2 separate regions of the Homo sapiens genome follow, and region 2 is linked to region 1. The links are contacts of gene promoters, found by promoter capture Hi-C in blood cells and fetal thymus (Javierre and others, 2016). All regions are on one chromosome and are shown on one strand. Each heading gives the region's core, a stretch centred on a gene start or on the middle of the fragment in contact. The rest is flanking DNA. Distances are from core to core; before and after follow the strand shown. Region 1 holds the start of RASSF6 (Ras association domain family member 6). Region 2 overlaps ANKRD17-DT (ANKRD17 divergent transcript).

The links. Contacts are between HindIII fragments. The CHiCAGO score rates a contact against its expected background, and 5 or more counts as called.
Region 2: a fragment that was not itself captured here is called in contact with the fragment with the promoter of RASSF6 in region 1 in 1 of 17 cell types (megakaryocytes); the score reaches 5.9 in megakaryocytes.

The regions. Positions count from the first base shown.
Region 1 is chr4:73,618,451-73,622,829 of GRCh38, forward strand. It overlaps RASSF6 (Ras association domain family member 6), which reads right to left and starts at 1,986. Exons shown (of 11, transcript NM_177532.5): 1 at 1,838-1,986. RefSeq lists enhancers at 1,460-2,009, 2,010-2,558. The HindIII fragment of the contact is 3,198 bases long and covers 1,651-4,379 here.
Region 2 is chr4:73,336,224-73,340,602 of GRCh38, forward strand. The region is part of intron 3 of ANKRD17-DT (ANKRD17 divergent transcript); the gene reads left to right. Among named protein-coding and RNA genes, the nearest start is that of ALB, 66 kb to the right of the region's middle. RefSeq lists enhancers at 2,863-3,364, 3,365-3,864. The HindIII fragment of the contact is 6,759 bases long and covers 1-4,379 here.

The DNA.
Region 1 (4,379 bases), core at 736-3,235:
ATCAATAAATATAAAGGCAAATAACTTTGTTTAAGGATGTATAACAATATGGAAATTCAGCATAAAAGCATATTTCCTCTTTGAAAAATCTTTAATGAATATTGGAACCCTAACTTATTCTAATTCAATTTGATTCCTTTATAAGTTTTTAGCTAAACTGTACTAAACACAATCAGACCCCAGAGGGAAATAACATAGTAAACTTCAGTTAGGTTGGGTTTAGAATTCTATCCACAATTCTCCAGTCAATATCTAATTGTAAGCACACTGAAGAATTTCAACTCTGCAATTTGAAAAAAGAATCCATTAAAACACCAATGATATTAAGTTAGAGTATACTGCAAACTCTTTGACTGCTTTATTTAATAAAATAACAAGATAAAAATGAAGTCAATGGAAATTACTAGTCATAGACACTAAGTTGGTCCCCTCAAGAAAATTAGCAACATTAATAACTAACAACATTGACAAAAGTGCCCTTTAAGTGAAACTTCATAAAATAAAGCCACTTTCCTGTAATTTAAGCTTAAGAGGTAGAGACTGACAAAATACAAGTATTATTCCTTCATGTCTCTTGTCCATCAACACAAATTAAAAACAGCACTTCAATACAAACAATTCAATATGTGCTGAAATATAAAGACATGGATTATATGGTCTAAATTGATGAAAGTTATTCAAAAGCAGTCTCCTTTATAAAACCCAAATGGCATGAATTCCACAATATGAGATTGTGTGTAACTCTCTTACTCTAAAATTCTATTTTCTTTTTAGGAATAACAGATTAATGTAAATGTGAATTTTTCAAAAGAAAACTGATTGAGTAGCAAATATGTCTGAATTTGCCACCACATACTCTATCTGAAAAATGGAAAGAAGCCAGGTCATTTCGTTGCTACCCAGAGAGATGATCCTAGCACACCTGTCACCTGCTTGCCTGTCCTGGATCCAGTCTCCGGGAACCAGTTCAATTCCAGCATCCTAATACACACTGTCTGGTCTCCCTAGTTCAGCTTGCCCTCCCTGATAACGGCCCCTTTGGCAGAGCAGCTTATTCTTAATGCTAACAGTAGGTATCACTTACAGAACACTTGCTGACTGTTCAGTTCCCATCAAAGAAAGCCTTATGTGGCAGATCCTTTGATGATGCTTGTTTTACAGACAAACGTTTGGGGCTTAGGTTAAGAAACTTGAGAGGGGGCAAACTAATAAGTGGCAAAGCCGAGCTTTGAACCTACCACTCTTCTGCTTCAGAATTCATATCCTTAACTCATGCACTCCCATTTAATTATTTATGTTTATTATTTCATTGTTTGGTGAGCGCTTATATTGAAAATTCATTTTTTTTTTGGTGGGGGGCATGCTTTCTGTCACTTTGCAGAAACAAATAAAAGTTGAGCTGAACCCTCAATTAAGTTCTTTCCAGTGCGATGATTCAACACAATATTCTAACCATAAGGATACTCAGAGGAAGGAGTATGCCATCCAGAAGTCTAGTATCTTTGTAAGGCACGATTTTTGCCAGGCACAATTACAGGTGAAGGGCTCATTGAACTAAAGGGAGGAGGGGTCCTATGGTCACATTTACCTCCAAGCCCTTCTCTGCACCCTTTCCCTCCCTTCTTTCCCCTCTCTCCCTCCCACCCTACAAGCTTACCTTGGTTAGGAAAGCATATTCTGAGAAAATCAAAAGGAAAAGGCATGTGTGCGATTCAGGCTGCTATGACACACACACACTTAACTTTGTTGCCTATGGATTCTGCTTTCTAATAACTTGCCCTCAACATGACCCCAGGGAGTGGATTAGAAAGTTTTTTTCCCCATCCCCATTTTTTACCTGTTATTCACACTGTGAGCAGGAGGACCCTTTTCACCATCGTTGTTCGGCTGAACTTGCTTCGCGGTTTGTTCTCGGCTGGGTCAGGAACTCTGGTAGAGGGAAACCAGTGCCCTGTCTCTGCCGGGCTGGGACTCCGCGAGTCACTCACCTGTAGGGGAGGTCCGAGGCCCGCGCGGGCGCAGGGGCGGCGCCTGTCTCCTCCCAGAGCATGGCTCAGCTGGGCGCTTGCAGTGCCCCCGACGCGATCAGCGATCCTGGAGCCCCAGGAGCTGTTAATTATTTCTCCTTTTCGCCACAGCAGGGAAGTGTCAAGAAACCTGAGCCACTCCCTGTGCCTCAGTGCATGTTGGGAGTGTTTACTTTCTTAGGAACAGCTGATAGGTACACTCCTTTGCTCTCTGCCACACTTCTTGAGAAATGAATGGACATTCTAGTTAACGCTTTAACCACGGGATTTGACTGATGTTAATCTCTATTCTCTAGTCCACCCAGACTGTAGGTAATTGGCCTGTGAGAAATGACACCAACCAAGACTGAACGCCATTATTCACGTCTTTCTTTTTAAGATTTTTCTTTTCCAATTTGAGATTTGTTAACTTTCTTTTCCTTGTTATTTTGCTAACACATTTCCCTGCTAGCACTTTTTTTCACCCAGAGCAGCGTTTCGCGCTTCAGGGTGCACCAGGACCACCTATGTATTCTGCTAAACCCAGGTACCATCAACTGTGAGACTCTGATTTAGTAGGCCATGCATACACTTCGGGTATTTATATTTTTTATAAGCTCCACAGAAGAAACTGGTAGACATCAAAGTTTGAAAATGAACATAATGAAACAAAACAGAGGAGATAAATAATAATTTAGTCATTATCTACTGAATTGGATTTGGGGGCTTTGTTTTATCCAATATCTCCAATTTCAAAAGGACACCAAAAAGGCTTAGAAACTGTTAAATGACAGATGCTGTGGAAATATGAAGTACATTTACACACACACACACACACACACACACACAGATTTTTAAGGATCATTGTTATTTTACTGGTTTCCTATGTAAAGCAACTATTCATAATTTTTAAACATAATAGGTTATTTTACAAGTGTAAACCTGAGAGCCCTCAAAAGAAATTCAATCTGATTCCTGCAAAAAGTTCAGCAGGCAGAGTTAATTTCTAGTATCTTTCGTGTTCAAACGCCAGACAAACAGAATGACTCTAGATGTTCAGGTTGCATGTTTGTCATAGCACTTTAAGTAAGATCCTATATGTTCAAAAGGTGAGGCAGGCCAGGTGCAGTGACTCACGCCTGTAATCTCAGCACTTTGGGAGACCAAGGCTGGTGGATCACTTGAGCCCAGGAGTTCAAGACCAGCCTGGACAACATGGCAAAACCCTGTCTCTGCAAAAAAAAAAAAAAAAATTAGCCCGGCATTGTGGGGCATGCCTATAGTCCCAGCTACTCGGGAGGCTGAGGTGGGAGGATCACTTGAGCCTGGGAAGTCGAGGCTGCAGAGAGCCAAGATTGCACCACTGCACTCCAGCCTGATTCAAAAAAAAAAAAGAAAAAATATTAGGCAGTTTATCTATTTAATCTGTGGTGTGCGGAGACCAGGAACTATCAGATTTATCATTATTTGAGCAAATGGTTTTATTGGATCACAATCAAAGATTTTACAATCTTATGTAAGGACAGATGTGACTTAGTATTACTTGCAGATATTAATTCGATCATCATGTTGGCTCCATAACTCTCTGGTATGTGGCTGCTGGTATGGACTGACCTTTGAATGATGACTAGCAGGACCTAGAGTAGTTACAGCTCTCGGTTCCAGGATATCTTGCTCAAATCCATGCTCCACCTCCATTGTCTGTGCTTGAAGTGGGTCATTTGCTTATTGTCAGCATCAGGGCAACATTCTTTTGCATCTTTTACCTGCAAGCATTGGATTTGGGGGCTTTGTTTTTTGCCAATATCTCCAATTTCAAAAGGACTCCAAAAAGGCTTAGAAACTGTTAAATGGCAGATGCTGTGGAAACTTTTACTCTGATGACTGCTTTCCAACTGGTTTTCTAAAGAAAAGTAAAGTTAGAGGCTTAGTGACTTCGTTTTTTAGTGTTTTATCTGTTTGTAAATATGTAATTTTTATTTGATAATATAAAAAGTATATAATTGCACATATGCAATGTGGAAAATCTGAAAAACACAGAAATGTAGAGGACAAAAAGCACCTATAATTCCATCTCTCAAGTATAATCATCATAAACAATTTGTTGAATGTCTTTATTGACTTATTTTCCCTGTGGCTGTTTATCAAAATGCTATTACATTTGGTTTGTTGGTTTATAGCCTGCTTTCATCACATCAAACGTAGTATGAACAATTTACTATAAATCAGTCACTTTTTTTCCTGCAATGTAATTTTAACTAGCTGCTCTGTATTGCACCAAATGAAAATACCGTTACTTATTTAATTATTATGATAAAGTTATACTGTTATAAACAACACTGCAGTGAATGATTACATATGATTCCACACAAG
Region 2 (4,379 bases), core at 623-3,122, 280 kb before region 1:
TATATAGACATTATAGAAATAAATTGTAAAGCAACTTTAAAATAAAACATAAGAATAAAATTTATGTTGAAGAAATTGACCTAAATATGTATGCACAACATTCCTTGAAATTTTTGCCTTGACAGTAACAAATGCTGTCGAAGAGGTGAAGAAAAGGAAACCCTTGTACACTATTGGTGGGAATGTAAATTAGTACAACCACTATGGAAAACAGTTTGAAGGTTCCTCAAAAAACCAAAAATTGAGCTACCATATGATCCAGAAATCCCACTGCTGGGTATATACCCAAAAGAAAGGAAAACAGTATATCGAAGAGATATCTGCACTCCCATATTTGTTGCAGCACTGTTCACAATAGCCCAAATTTAAAAGCAATGTAAGTGTCCATCAACAGATGAATGGATAAAGTGTGGTGCTTATACACAATGGAGTACTACTGAGTCATAAAAAGAATGGGATCCTGTCATTTGCCACAACATGGATGGAACTGGAGGTCATTATGCCAAGTGAAATAAGCCAGGCACAGAAAAGACAAACTTCACATGTTCTGATTTATTTGTGGGATCTAAGAATCAAAACAATTGAATTCACGGACATAGAGAGTAGAAGGATGGTTACCAGAGGCTGGGAAAAGTAGTGGGGGGCTGGGGACAATGGTTAATGGGTACAGAAAAAATAGAAAGAGTTAGACCTAGTAATCGATAGCACAATAGGGTCACTTTTTATAGTCAATAATAACTCGATAGTACATTAAAAATAATAAAAAGAATATAATTGGATTGTTTATAACACAAAGGATAAATTCTTGAGGGGATGGATACCCCATTTTACATGATGTGATTATTAAACATTGCATGCCTGCATTAAAACATCTCATGTACCCCATAATTGTATACACTTACTATGTACCCACAAAAATTAAAATTAAATATTAAAAAGAAATTTCTGCCTTGAATTACTGAATGGTTCTTCTAAGTAAAAATGGATATTTTTCAAAAGAAATTAATTATTACAATATTGCATGCCTACCCCCAAATGGCAATATTCCTTGGCAATTCTTAATTTCCAAAGATAAATTCAAGAGTAGGGCTTCTCCAGAAGTAATGTTTTGACTATATATTGCTTTTTGTCATTTTAAGCCTGGTTAAAGAAGCTAAAAAGTGTCTAAGTTTATCCATACTTCATTTATGGCACAAGAACATTGATTCATTTTTCTCTCTGCTCACTGTAGCAAAGAGAACCTGAAAGTAAGTTCTCTTTGCCTATGGCAGTGACTTATTCCCATGAACTTATGTCTTTAATATCATCAAGGTAATCTTTGCAGCAGTTTTACTACTTTATATGCTTTTCTTTTGTTTGTTCACTAACTTTCTTGTTTTTGAAACCAATTATGTCTTAAATATGTTTCTGAGGAGCAGCTACATGAGGCTTTAGAGACTTGCAGTTTTCATATTTATGTCTGACCTAAGATTTTGTCTCGGCATCATCACATGCCCCTGTGCTTCTGTGTGCAAAGTAAAATATTCCTGAATGACCATCACAAGTAAATTTATTATGGTTTTTAAAGATATAATTCACATGCCATATGATTCACCCACTTAAAGTGTACAATTCAAGGGTTTTTAGTATATTCACAGAGTTATGCATCCATCAACACAATTTTAGTACATTGTCATTACCCCCTCCAAAAAACCCACATTCCCTAGCCATCACCCTACAATCTCCTTTTCCTCTCCAGCATCAGGCAACTGCCAATCTACTTTCTGTAATTTTCCCACTCTTGAAAATTCATATAAATGAAATCATGGAATATGTGGTCCTTTGTGATAGGTTTTTCACTTAACGTGTTTTCAAGGTTTATGCATGTAGTGGCATGTATCATTACTTCATTTCTTTTTATTATTAAACAATATTTCATTGTATAAATATACTACATTTTGTTTATCCGTTCATCAATTGATGGACATTTGGGTGGTTTCTCTTTTATGCTATTATGAATACTGCTGCTATGAACATTTGTGTGTGCGTTTTTGTGTAGATACGTTTTTATTTTTCTTGGGTATATACCTAGGAGTGGAATTGCTGGATCATGTGGTAACTCTGTTTAACCCTTTGAGAAACTGTCAGACTATTTTCCAAAGTGGCTACCACCATTTTACAGTCCCATGAGCAATATATGAGAATTTGAATATCTCCACATTCTTGCTAACATTTGTTATTGTCTATCTTTTTTCAGGTAGTCATCTTATTGGGTGTGAAATGACATCTGGTGGTTTTGATTTTCATTTCCCTGGTGGCTAATAATGTTGATCATCTTTTCAAGTGCTTATTGACCATTTGTATATCCTTTTTGGAGAACTATCTATTCACTTCCTTTGCCCATTTTTAAATTGGGCTATTGTATTAGTCCATTTTCATGCTGCTGATAAAGACATACCTGAGACTGGGAAGAAAAAGAGGTTTAATTAGGAACTTACAGTTCCACATGGCTGGGGAGGCCTCAGAATCATGGCGAGGGATAAAAGGCACTTCTTACATGGTGGCGGCAAGAGAAAAATGACAAAGATGTAAAAGGGGAAATCCTGATAAAACCATCAGATCTCATGAGACTTATTAACCTACCACAAGAACAGTATGGGAGAAACTGCCCCCATGATTCAAATTATCTTCCACTGGGTCCCTCTCACCGCATGTGGGAATTATGGGATTACAATTCAAGATGAGATTTGGGTGGGGACACAGAGCCAAACCATATCATTCCACCCCTGGCCCCTCCAAATCTCATGTCCTCACATTTCAAAACTAATCACGCCTTCCCAACAGTCCCCCAAAGTCTTAACTCATTTTAGCATTAACCCAGAAGTCCACAGTAAAAAGTCTCATCTGAGACAAGACAAGTCCCTTCTGCCTATGAGCCTGTAAAATCAAAAGCAAGCTAGTTACTTCCTAGATACAATGGGGGTACAGGTATTGGGTAAATACAGTTGTTCCAAATGGGAGAAATTGGCCAAAACAAAACAGTTACAGGGCCCATGCAAGTCCAAAATCCAGTGGGGCAGTCAAATTTTAAAGCTCCAAAATAATCTCCTTTGACTCCAGGTCTCACATCCAGGTCACACTGATGCAAGAGGGCCCAACCCCACGCAGAGAGCCAACCCCACATTTCCCTTCTGCACTGTCCTAGCAGAGGTTCTCCATGAGAGCCCTGTCCCTGCAGCAAACTTCTGCCTGGCCATTCAGGCATTCCCATACATCTTCTGAAATCTAGGCGGAGGTTCCCAAACCCCAATTCTTGACTTCTGTGAACCTGCAGGCTCAGCAGCATGTGGAGGCTGCTAATGCTTGGGGCTTGCACCCTCTGAAGACATGGCTCGAGCTCTGTGTTGGCCATTTCAGCCATGACTGGAGCAGCTGGGACGCAGGGCACCAAGTCCCTAGACTACACGTAGCACAGGGACCCTGGGCCCTGCCCATGAAACCATTTTTTTCCTCCTAAACCTCCAGGTCTGTGATGGGAGAAGCTCCTGCAAAGGTCTCTGACATGCCCTGGAGACATTCTCCCCATTGTCTTGGAGATTAATATTTGGCTTCTCGTTACTTATGCAAATTTCTGCAGCTGGCTTGAATTTCTCCTCAGAAAATGAGATTTTCTTTTCTATTGCATTGTTAGGCTGCAAATTTTTCAAACTTTTAAGCTCTGTTTCCCTTTTAAAACTGAATGCTTCTAACAGCATCCAAGTCATCTGTAGAATGCTATGCTGCTTAGAAATTTATTCTGCAAGATACTCTAAATCATCTGTCTCAAGTTCAAAGTCCCACAAATCTCTAGGGCAGGGGCAAAATTCCGCCAGTCTCTTTGCTAAAACCTAACGAGAGTCACTTTTGCTCCAGTTTCCAATAAGTTCCTCATCTCCATCTGCAACCAACTCAGCCTGGACCTTACTGTTCATATCATCATCAGCATTTTTGTCAAAGCCATTCAACAAATCTCTAGGAGTTTCAAACTTTCCCACACTTTTCTGTCTTCTGAGTCCTCCAAACTGTTCCAGCCTCTGCCTGTTACCCAGTTCCAAGGGAGTTCTCTGACCCCTTGCACTTCCCAGGTGAGGCGACGGCCCACCCTGCTTCAGCTCGCCCTCCGTGGGCTGCACCCACTGTTTAACTAGTCCCAATGAGATGAGCTGGGTACCTCAGTTGGAAATGCAGAAATCACCCACTTTCTGCATTGATCTTTCTGGGAGCTGCAGACTGGAGCTGTTCTTAGCTGGCCATCTTGCCAGCCACCTTGGTTACTGTAGTTTTGCAGTAAGTTTTGAATGATCAACTTTTTTCCAAATTTGTATCAGTTTTGACATTTGCACATAATTTGTTTGGATTAT